2 separate regions of the Homo sapiens genome follow, and region 2 is linked to region 1. The links are contacts of gene promoters, found by promoter capture Hi-C in blood cells and fetal thymus (Javierre and others, 2016). All regions are on one chromosome and are shown on one strand. The core of a region is centred on a gene start or on the middle of the fragment in contact, and the rest is flanking DNA. Distances in the headings are between cores, read along the strand shown. Region 1 holds the start of MC2R (melanocortin 2 receptor). Region 2 has its middle 41 kb from the start of MC2R.

Region 1 (5,848 bases), core at 1,473-3,972:
GCTCGCTATGGTAGGCAATGGCTCATCTGAATCCAGCGCACATCTTGTTTTGAATTCCGCATAGGCTCAATTATGAGAGGCCTTCAAGGGAGCCTTATTTTGGGGGTGGCTTTATTCTTTTTCCCCATGCCGGGCACAGGCAGAAGCATCTCTCGGTGTGATCATCTTGCAGGCCGCTGGGCAGGTTTACAGCTTTTCCGACACTTCACAGAGAACTGCTGCTTACAGTATAATTTCTTTTTTAATATACACAAGACTGGAAATTAGGCATGAATGACAATGTGATCACATCTTAGGACGAGCGAAGGAAAGTCCCGAGAATGGAAGCTTTTGCAGGAGCTCACAGCTAGGGAGGCATGAAGCCCAGGCTGGAGTGTTCTGGTTGGAAATCAGTGTGATGCTCAGCTCCCTGCACAGCCTCACCTGGACCACCACCTTCCACCCGCTCACATCTCCCGTCCTCTGAGCTTCACTGCTCATGGCAGGCTTCCTCCACGGTGCCTTCCTGCCAGTGTGACCCACTCGGACCTTTCCCTGCCACGGCTGTGCTGCTCACACAAACGCTTGCTGCCCCCAGGTTTTGATGCTGGGACACCTACTAGGTTGATTAGTCTCTGTAGTTTGCACATGTTGTTCTCCCACCAAGTCAGGCTCTGTGCGTTACCCATGCTGCTAGCACAGCGCTTGGCACACGCATATTTTGAGTTGAGAACTTACTTTAAAACCATCTTCCAAATTTTGTACCCTGGCGGCTCATAGTCAGAGAACAGAGAAGTTAAGACTTTAGGACTCCACCACACTTTAAGGCCCACTGGGTGGGTCTGCACCAGCGCTTGCCTGTCTGTTCACACGTTCTCTCTCCCTGGGCCTGGACACGTCCTTCCTCACTTCTCACACTCAGCACTGTGTCCTTGCCCAAGTACAGACTCTCTTCCACTGCCCCCGCATCCCAAGGGAGCCCAGGATTGCTGCCCGTCTATGCACCTGTAGCTGTTTGTTCTTATTTCTACAACGGCATTATTCACATGAAAACCCTGCAGATGGATCTGAGTTCCTTAGGATAAGACCTGCCCTGACCATGTCTGAGGCTGAGCCCTGCAGACAACCTGGCCCACAGCAATTATATTTGCCTAATGAAGGCAAGGAATGTGGCTTACACAGACAAGAAAGCTCTCATTAAAATGTATTAGACACTAAGGATTCCATAGGAAACATACCTGGGATCATTAACAAGGTAAAGAATAGGATTTTTTTTTTTTTTTAAGATGTCTTAAGTTGCTCTGAGGCAGTGAGAGGGCAATTTGCTGCTGAGCAAAAACCTCCTCTGCCAGAGATTCAGGATCCACTGAGAAGTCAGGATGGCTTTGGAGCTTATCTACCCCATTACCCTGGTTCATGCCCTCCTCCACCCCTGCCGCGGCCTAAGCGGTGTCCCAAAGGCAGGGTGAGGGCTCCCGTCTCCCTGCTCCCACAGCTCTTTGTGGGTGTGTGTCCTGTCTGGGAGCTAGTGTGAAGTGTTGTCTCAGTGTGCGCTGTCCTCAGCGCCGGGGCTCCAGGAGGCTCCACTCTGACTTAGGCTTGCAACAAGGCCCAGCACATAAGGGTTCGGTACAGCTTGATCTAGGCATGAATGTGTGAGCAGAGCCTGTGACCACCGCTTCACTCCCACTCCGGGGATGGGGTGGGGAGGGCATGTGAGGAGCACTCCTCCTTCTGATCTGCTCAAGGCTGTACTCTCTGGACCCCTTTGTACCCCTTTCCCATTCCTATCCCTTTTGGACTTTTTGCATGCATGTATGTATGTATGTTTACAAGTGTGCACGTGTATGTGTGTATATGTGTGTGTATGAGTGTGTGTGTGTAAGTGAAGAATGGGGACAGTTATCTGAAGGCAGCTTAGACAAACTGAAATATGAAGAAGAGCTGTTTAATCGAATGCCTGGGCCTCTTTTCTAGGTAACATGTGCCCCCCGACAGAGCCAGCCAAAGGAAGGTGTGAGCCCCTCATGATGGCAGTGACTGCATGCTTTCTGGGTGCAAACACTTTGCAGGAGTATGTGATAATCAGTATGCTTTTAGTTATTGTTTATCCTGCACCCCGTGTTGCTGCCTAGGAAGGTGGAGGCTGACTGAGCTAGTGGTTGAGAAAGGCACAGAAAGTGTGCGTGCATCTCCCAGAACTGTAACGTCACACGTGTGGATGGTGGAGTTGCTTAGACACCAATGCCTGAGGTTCAGGAAGCTGCCGCATGCCCACGTCTTTGTGGCGCTAAAACCCCCGCACTCTTACACCTAGACAAGCTGATCAGGTGAAGGGGCTAACTCCAGAAGTGATAATAGAAGCATGATTTGTTTCACCCCTAATTCTATTAGGAAAAAACTGGCTGTAGTCCTTGAATAGAGCTCAATGACAATTTGAAGAGTACTAGAGAAGCCAATAAATTCATTAATAGGGAAGATTGTTTTAGCTAGACAAAAAGGTAATAGCCTTCATTGTAGTAGTTTAATTAGAAAAATAATAAACTCCCTTAGGAAGGATGAAAGCCCATAATTAAAAAGATGAGCTATTTGGAGGAATTCTGAATAGTACCTCTTCTCAGATTTGTTCCTAGCTGCTCTATTCATGGTCCAAAAGCACTTAGCAAGCTGAGGAATTAGTGGAAAATGTACTTACCTTCAGCTCTGAAGCAGGAACTTTCTGGGCAAAATGAATGAGAAGGAATGAGCTCGGAGAGAAAAGCAAGCAAGTGGACCTTGGGCCGGGAAGGGCCGGAACACATGCATCACCGGAGATACAGCTAGATTGTTATCATTACCTTGAATAAATGTCATCCCACATGAACTGTGCATTTCTGGTAATGTGAAGTTAGAGAAATGGAAAGACACAGGCAGATGAAGACATAATTTCCATGAGCTCAGCTAGTCAAGGTTACTTCCAATGTTTATGACAATGTTTCTAGCAGATTATGGAATTGTCATCTTGCTCTTTTTAAATGCCACTTTAGAGTTGCATTTATTTCCAAAAAGAACTAAGGAATTAAATAAATCAGGTTTTTGAGAAAATGGTTTTGGAAGAATTTGTTTTAAAACTTCTAGCAAACTTCTTGATATATCTTGCAAATATTTGGCTCATTAGTTTCATTAAGAAGAAGGGAATAGCCCCATTATCCCTATTTCACAAGACTAAACAATGAGAGTGAGGGAACTGTGTGCTCAAGTGCACATATGACGCATGGGTCCAGACAAGAAAAAAACCCTGTGTTCTGCCAATGCTTCTCCGTCCAAAAACTTCACAGAAACCGCCATAGATAAGAGCCATCATTCAAAGCAAAATTCTTCCATTTTAGGGTGCAATGCTGTGTGTTTTCTGCCTGCCGGGGCCTGCAGGGAAGGGCTACTGTTGGTGTCAGTCACAGCAACAGGAATGTTGAAGTGTGGAATTGGGCCAAGTTTCCAGATGGTCCTGGGTTTTTGGGGCTGGGGCCAAACCAGTGGCTGTTTCTGAAATGTGAGCTTCCGCCCCAAGCTAAAAAGTGTTCACACGTGGGTGGTCTGGAAAAGACCAAAGAGAGAGACCTGAGTTGAATTTGCCAGGCGGGTAAACACAATTTTATAAAGTGGCTTTTCCTGGCCTGTCACTGAGGCAAAGCGTGTTGTCCCCAGGAACTCATGGACCCAGGATCATCCCAGACTTCGACTGTTTCTGAGTAGGTGTGTGCCTCCGCAACATGCCCTGCAGCTGAAACCCGGCGTTCCACAGGCCTCTTTCCCTCTTCAGTCATGTAGTTGAGATAACAGAGAAAAGCAAGGCATTGCCTCCAGAAAGCTACTGTATTATCTGGAAAAGTAGAGACAACTCGTCCTTAGCCCTTGTACTTGCAGAAGCAGAGGCCCTTTGTCAGAGATCTGTGGATCTGATTAGCTGATTGGGAAAACCGGTGGCCAGCCCTGGGGAGTGGGACATCAGGCAGGCTGCAGACAATGGGAACACTGTCTGGAGGAGGCGAGCCTCGGCCAGTCCCCTGGGTGGGACCTGGGCCACTCTGATTGGGAGGGACAGGGAGAGACTTCCAGCAGGGGGAAGGTTGCCTAGGGGTTTGGCTAAGCCCTGCAAAGAGAGTAGCTATTGCTATTTTAGTTCTTCCATTTTGGGGGCTCATCTCTCTCCAATTTTTAGAGAAAAGGGGGCAAAAATCTCTTGGAAGGAGCAGAGTAGAAATGACAGAGTTTAGAACCAGAAGACACGCGGTCAGAGTTCTGAGTGCCAGGCCTCTAGGACTCCATTGCCTGGTGTAAAGCGGGCTGTTGTGAGAATTCAGACTAGGTTTGTAACAGTGCTCAGGGAAATCTAAAACCATATGCCAATACCTATGGTTTTTGTTATAACCCTGTCCAAACACTCTTGAAATAGTGGTATTTTAAAAGAAATATCTTTGCTGTAGGGAAACCCATTCAGCTGGTGATCATTGGAAAGCAAACTTGTAAGTGGAGATGCTGGTAGATGAACTCTGATGACCATGTTACAACTGCGCCACCATTCCGTCACCAGCCCAGTCTCTCTCTCATCCCAAGAGATACGATGGAAAAGGGGAATTTTAGGGAGCATTCAAAGGGCTTCTGTATGCACCCTTTCTTCTCTTCTCACACAATCGTATACAACTCGGTCACTTTCACAAATACAACTTCCTCCCCAGTGCTTGTCCCTCTCATGGAAAAGCTAAAGAGGCAGAGAGAGAGAAAGAGTGAGAGGGTGGGGGAGGCTTGGGAGGCAGAGCAAGGGGAAAGGAGATGCAATGGGGAAACAGAAGGGGACAGGAAGAAGAGACAGGGCCGGGGATCTGTCTTTTGTGTTTGCAGGACTGCCCCATTCTGACATAGAAAATGCTGGGGTTGGAAGGTAACTCACAAATGTCTTTGCTGAAATCTGCAGTGGAAGCAATGGTAAGAATCCACAGTGGGTTTCCTATGTGCCAGCCATGATGAATGTTCTCAGTGCTGTACATATCTCGACATTTAATCTTCTCAGCACATGTGTGAAGTCACCTTACAGACCCCATTTATAGATGGGGATCTGAGAAGTTCAGTGGCTCTACAGAGGCCATGATAGCACTTAAGACTTTCCTGTAAGAACGATGAGGAGTCAGGACTAGGATGACATGACCTGATTCAGGCTTTAAAGGATCCTCTCCACGGGTTGTAGGGGCCAGAGGGGAGACGGGACAGTGGTAGAGGTGGGTGCCTGGTGGGAGCTGCTTGAGGAGGAAATGGGAAGTGAGGAGAGGAGACAGCAAGCATGGACAAGCTCTTATGAAACATTTACATTTAAATTTTAAATAAATATTGTATATATTTAAGGTGTATATGATGTTTTGTGTGTATACTCACAGTGGACTGCTGACTGCAGCCAATCTACTGAACATACCCATCGGCCTGCAGTTGCCTTTCTGTGTGTGTGGTGAGAACACTTCAGATCTGCTCTCTTTGCACATTTCCTTTTCTTTTTCTTTTTCTTTTGTTTTGTTTTGTTTTGTGTTTGAGATGGGCTCTCCCTCTGTTGCCCAGGCTGGAGTGCAGTGGCACCATCTTGGCTCACTGCAACCTCTGCCTCCCAGGTATAAGCAATTCTCCTGCCTCAGCCTCTCAAGTAGCTGGGACTACAGGCGCACGCCGCCATGCCCGGCTAAGTTTTTATGTTTTAGTAGAGATGGGGTTTCACTGTGTTTCCCAGGCTGATCTCGAACTCCTGAGCTTAGGCAATCCACCCACCTCGGCCTCCCAAAGTGCTGGGATTACAGGCGTGAGCCACCATCCCCTGCCCTTCTCTTTGCACATTTCAAGCATACAACAC
Region 2 (5,848 bases), core at 2,185-4,684, 41 kb after region 1:
TCTTCACTTCTCCAAGGGTCTTAAGTGTTTTCTTCTTGGATGCCAGGATTGTTGTTCTTCCACTGTCACAAAATTGGTTTGCCCTTCCCAGTAGCAACAACTTCACATTTTTCCTAATTACCTCCTGCTTATACCCAGAGTATTTTCCTGAAAGGATCAAGTATGAGACAGACAAGGATATTTTTTACAAAATACATAAAGACTCATTATGTCTCTCATCTCAGCCCACCTGGAACACCTTAGGAGGACTCAGCAATGTAACCAACCAGTTGGATGTCATCCACATGAACCAAGGCTTTATCAAACCAGCAATAGAATCTACATAACTGAACCAAAATTATGTTTGAATTCCCTAGACCTCTTGTCTGGGCTGCCAACTAGACTGGCATGGGGTTGCTATTAGAAGAAAGAAAAAAAATCATGTCTATAAACATTCAGGATGGAATCTCAAGTTTTCGGTATTATCTATATAAATTCCCACCACTTTTGTTGTGATCATTATGCAGGAAGTAGCCAAGAGGAGATGAACTCATTCTACTGATGTCAGTATTCATCAAACTACCTTAATTTAGTGTATTAAGAGAAGGTGTGGGAGAGTCAGAAATAATTTGCCAATGACTTTTTAAAAGTCAATTTCACCTCTTGATGATATATGCCAGTAGCCTGAGCGTAGTAAGAAAGATAAAATGCCCATCAAATACTTTGATTATTGGAACATTGTTGGGTAGATTCTGTGACAAAGGTATACCACTGGCCTGTGTACATGACCCTGAAATCCAAAAATGTGACACAGTTTAGTTTAGAGGGCTAAAATTTTGTGAGCAGAGTCAGCTGATCAGTTTGAAATAGCTACAACCTATGTTGTAGCAACCTTGAAAATTAGGATAAAGTCAAAGACCACTATAGGTCAGTAAATTACTTTCAACAAGAACTTAGTAGTAGGTTAACAGCTGCTACTGCTTCTTCATCTTCTTCTTTTTCTTTTTCTTTTTTTTTTTTTGGAGGGTACTCAGTGGCTATTGCCAGGCCATTGTATTTGGCCTCTTTGAGTACTCTGGCAGTCACAGTCTTTAAAGCTACAATTTCCTTTCTCAGCATGGGATTCTATACTGTTTCTGCAGAATTATCCAGGCAGAAACAGGGATAATATCTCTACAGCCTGCAGTCCCTGAATTTGAGAATCTTTTTTTATGAGTCAGAGTTCAACCAGGAAGCAGAATGATGGATTCAAGGAACACCACAAACTTGTTATTTTTCTCATTTTTTTTTTTATTTGAAGTGTGGGAGTGATAATATTCCTGCATTGTAGATCCCTGAGAGGAAACTCCTGGCTGATTTTTAAATTACACATTTTTAAACTACACAGTGATAATATTCCTGCTATGTAGATCCCTGAGAAGAAAACTCCTGGCTCATCAAACCTGGGAGATTTCAGACTGAAGCATAAGCTAAAGACATGTAAAGTAAGCAACTTTAGATGTCTTTCTCAACCTTTATACAGCCTATATAGAAGAGGATAAAAACCTATAGACAGCCAATTGTGCTGCTGCTGACATGCATGAGTGAGCATGGATCCCACTGCCAATGCCCTGATGAAGTGCTTGGCTGGCACCCCCCTATCAGAGTGTTGTTGTCAGTGGACTGGGAACACCTTGGCCCCTCCAATGAAGCTGGTACTAACCTTGAGAGGCCAGAGAGCAAAGCCAGGGTTGTAGACTTTTTAGCAGAAACCCTACACGCCAGATGAGATTAGAGGCCTATATTTAGCATTCTTAAAAAAAAGAAATTCCAACCAAGAATTTCACACCTGGTCAAGCTAAGCTTTGTAACTGAAGAAGAAATAAGATCTTTCTCAGGCAAGGAAATGCTAAGAGAATTCATTACCCCCCAGACCTGCCTTACAAGAGACCCTTAACAAAGTGCTAAATATGGAAATGAAAGATCAGTCACCACAAAGACACACATAAGTGCATAGACCATTGACACCATAAAGCAACTACACAATCAAATTTGCATAATAAGCAGCTAACACCACAATGACAGGATCAAATCCACACATATCAATATTAACTGTAAATGTAAATGGGCTAAATGCCCATTAAAAGGCACAGAGTGGCGAGTTAGATAAAGAAGCAAGACCCAGTGGTATGCTGTCTTCAAGAGACCCAGCTCACATGAAATGACACCCATAGGTTCAAAGTAAAGTGATGGAGGAAAATCTGTCAAGCAAACAGAAAACATAAAAAAGCAAAACAACTTTAAACCAACAATAATCCAAAAACACAAAGAAGAGCATTACATAATGATAAAGGATTCAATTCAACAAGTAGACTTAACTATCCTAAATATATGTGCATGTAACACAGGAGCACCCAGATACATAAAACAAGTTTTTAGAGACTTACAAAGAGACTTAGATAACTGCACAATAATGGGAGACTTCAACATTCCACTGACAGTATTAGATCATTGAAGCAGATAACAGTACTAGATCATTGAGGCAGAAAAGAAGTAGAACATTGAGGCAGAAAAAAGATATTTAAGACCTGAACTTGACACTTGACCAAATGGACCTAACAGACATGTACAGAACTCTCCACCCAAGACAACAGAATATATATTCTTCTCATCTGCACGTGGCACATACTCTAAAATCCACCACACAATCAGCAATCAATTTTCAGCAAATTAAAAAAAATTATACCAACCACAATAAAATAAAATAAATCAATACTAAGAAGATTGCACAAAACTATACAATTACATGGAAATTAAACCTCCTGCTCCTGAATGACTTTTGGGTAGACTATGAGATTAAGGCAGAAATCAAGAAATGTTTTGAAACTAATGAAAACAAATATACAACAAAGCACAATATCTGGGACACAGCCAAAGCAGTATTAAAAGGAAAGTTTATAGCATTAACTAAATTTCCACGTCAAAAAGTTGGAACATCTAAAATTAAATACCTAACATTAGACTTACAGGAACCAGAAAAACAACAGCAAACCAACCCCAAAGCTAGCAGAAGACAAGAAATAACTAAAATCAGAGCTGAACTGAAAGAAATTAAGATGTGACAGTCTATGTAAAAGATCAACAAACCAAAAGTTTTTTTTAAGAATAAATAATATTGATAGACCACTATCTGGATTAATAAAGAAAAAAAGAGAGAAGATCCAAACATAATCACAAATGACAAGGGTGACATTGCCACTGGCCCCACAGAAATTCAAAGCACCCTCAGAGATTGGTATAAATACCTCTATGCTCATGAACTAGAAACCTACAAGAAATGTATAAATTCCTGGAAGTATACAACCTCCCAAGGTTAAACCAGGAAGAAATTGAAATCCTGAACAGACCAATAACAAGTTCTATAATTAAGTAATAAAAAGCCTACCAACCAGAAAAAGTACTGGACCAGATAGATTCACGGCAAATTCTACCAGATATATAAAGAAGAGCTGGTAACATTCCTACTGAAACTATTTCAAAAAATTGAGGAGGAGGCACTCCTCCTTAACTCATTAATGAGGCCAGCATCATTCTGATAGCAAAACCTGGCAGAGACACAACAAAACAAAACAAAACAAAACAAAACAAAACAAAACAAAACATCAGGCCAATACCTTTGATGAACATAGATGCAAAAGTTCTCAACAAAATACTAGCAAACAAAATTCAGCAGCACATCAAAAAGCTAATCCACCACAGTCAAGTAGGCTTTACCCCTGGGATGCAAAGTTGGTTCAATGTACACAAATCAGTAAATGTGATTCATTACACAAGCATAACTAAAATTTAAAAACCACATAATTATCTCAATAGATGCTAAGAAAGGCTTTCAATAAAATTCAACATCCTTTCCTGTTAAAAACCCTCAACAAACTAAGCATTGAAACAACATACCTCAAAATAATAAGAGCCATCTATGACAAACCCACAGCCAACATCATATTAAATGGGTAAAGCTGGAAGTGTTCCCATTAAGAACTGGAACAAGACAAAGATGCCCATTCTCACCACTTCTATTCATCACAGTTCTGGAAGTCCTAGCCAGAGCAATCAGGCAAGAGAAAGAAAAAAAAAGGCATCCAAATAGGAAAAGAGGAAGTCAAATTATCTCTGTTTCCAGATGATGTAATTCTATATCTAGAAAACCTCATAATCTCTGCCCAAAAGCTCCCAGATCTGATAAACAATTAAAGTTTCAGGATACAAAATCAAAACAAAATCAATGCAAAAATTCAGTAGCATTTCTGTACGTTAACAGCATCGAAGCTGAGAGCCAAATCAAGAATGCAATACCATTCACAATAGCCACAAAAAGAACAAAAAAACCTAGGAATACAGCTAACCTGGGAGGTGAAAGATCTCTACAATAAGAATTACAAAACACTGTTGAAGGAAATCAGAGATAACACAGACAAATGGAAAAACATTCCATGCTCACGGATAGGGAGAATCAATATAGTTAAAATGGCCATACTACCTAAAGCAATTTACAGATTCAATGCTATTCCTGTCAAACTACCAATGATGCTTTTCACAAATTTAAAAATAAAATTCTAAAATTTATATGGAACCAAAAGAAGAGCCCAAGTAGCCAAAGCAATCCTAAGCAAAAAGGACAAAGCCCCCGAGGCATCATGTTACCTAACATCAAACTATTCTACAAGGCTACAGTAACCAAAACAGCATGGTAGTGGTACAAAAACAGACACATATACCAATGGAACAGAATAGAGGACTCAGAAAGAAAGGTACACGCCAATAATAATCTGCTCTTCAACAAAGTGGACAAAAATGAGTGATGGGGAAAGAACTTCCTATTCAATAAATAAATAAACAGTGCTGATATAACTGGACTTATTAGAGACTATTAAGAATTGAGAGCCTCTACAACAAATTATATACAATATCCAATTTTCAACTAGAATTACTAGGTTTTTAATGAATGAGAAAAGTGTAACAATTACAGAGGTGAAAAAAGCACCCACTAATAACCAACCCTAATTGAGTGCAAAAGTTGGAGGTAGTAGATAAAGCTTTCAACATAGCTATTATAAATATCCAAAAAAGTTAAGGAGAAATATGTTCAATGGATTAAAGGGAAATATACTAATAGTAAGTGAACAAATATGGAACATCCAGAGTGGTACAGGAACTATGACATGAAATTAAATAGAAAATCTAGAGCTAAAAAGTAAAATAAATGACAAATTTACTAAAATGACCTCAAAGTAGATTTGGTATGGCAGAAGAAAAAGCTCATAACATGAAGCTATATTAATAGAAATTACCCAATCTAAAGAACAGTGAGAAAAGTGGATAGAGCCTCAGAGACCTGTGGGACAATGTCAGTCATCCCAACATCCATGTAATTGATGATCCAAAAGGAAGGGGGCAGAGAAAATAGGATAAAAAATATGTGGAGAAATAGTGGCTAAAAATGTCTTAAGTTTGGCAAAAAATTTTGAGTTACAATTCCAAGAAGTTCAACAAATCTCAAGTGAAATAAACAAGAGAAAAATTACAACTTTTAGTCAAATTGCTGAAAAAGGATAAAGATAAAAGATAAAAAGAGATACTAAATGCACTGAGAAAATCATGACACATCACATAAGAGACAAAAAAGATACATTAAATTGCTGACTTCTCATTAGAAATAATATTAATAGAGTCCCAAAACATTGGAAAGTCATATTCAAATTAGTACATGAAAAAAAATCTTTTGACTAAGAATTTTATATCCAACAAAACTATCCCACAAAAAAAGGAGGGGCAAAAGAAAGGCATTTTCAGATAACCAAAAACAAATAAATTGTTTTTAGCAGACCTGTTC

The links. The method cuts DNA at HindIII sites, captures the fragments that hold promoters and counts their contacts. A CHiCAGO score of 5 or more calls a contact.
Region 2: a fragment that was not itself captured here is called in contact with the fragment with the promoter of MC2R in region 1 in 1 of 17 cell types (neutrophils); the score reaches 7.8 in neutrophils.

The regions. Positions count from the first base shown.
Region 1 is chr18:13,912,814-13,918,661 of GRCh38, forward strand. It overlaps MC2R (melanocortin 2 receptor), which reads right to left and starts at 2,723. Exons shown (of 2, transcript NM_000529.2): 1 at 2,675-2,723. The HindIII fragment of the contact is 17,945 bases long and covers 326-5,848 here.
Region 2 is chr18:13,953,354-13,959,201 of GRCh38, forward strand. No RefSeq gene overlaps it. Among named protein-coding and RNA genes, the nearest start is that of MC2R, 41 kb to the left of the region's middle. The HindIII fragment of the contact is 3,230 bases long and covers 1,820-5,049 here.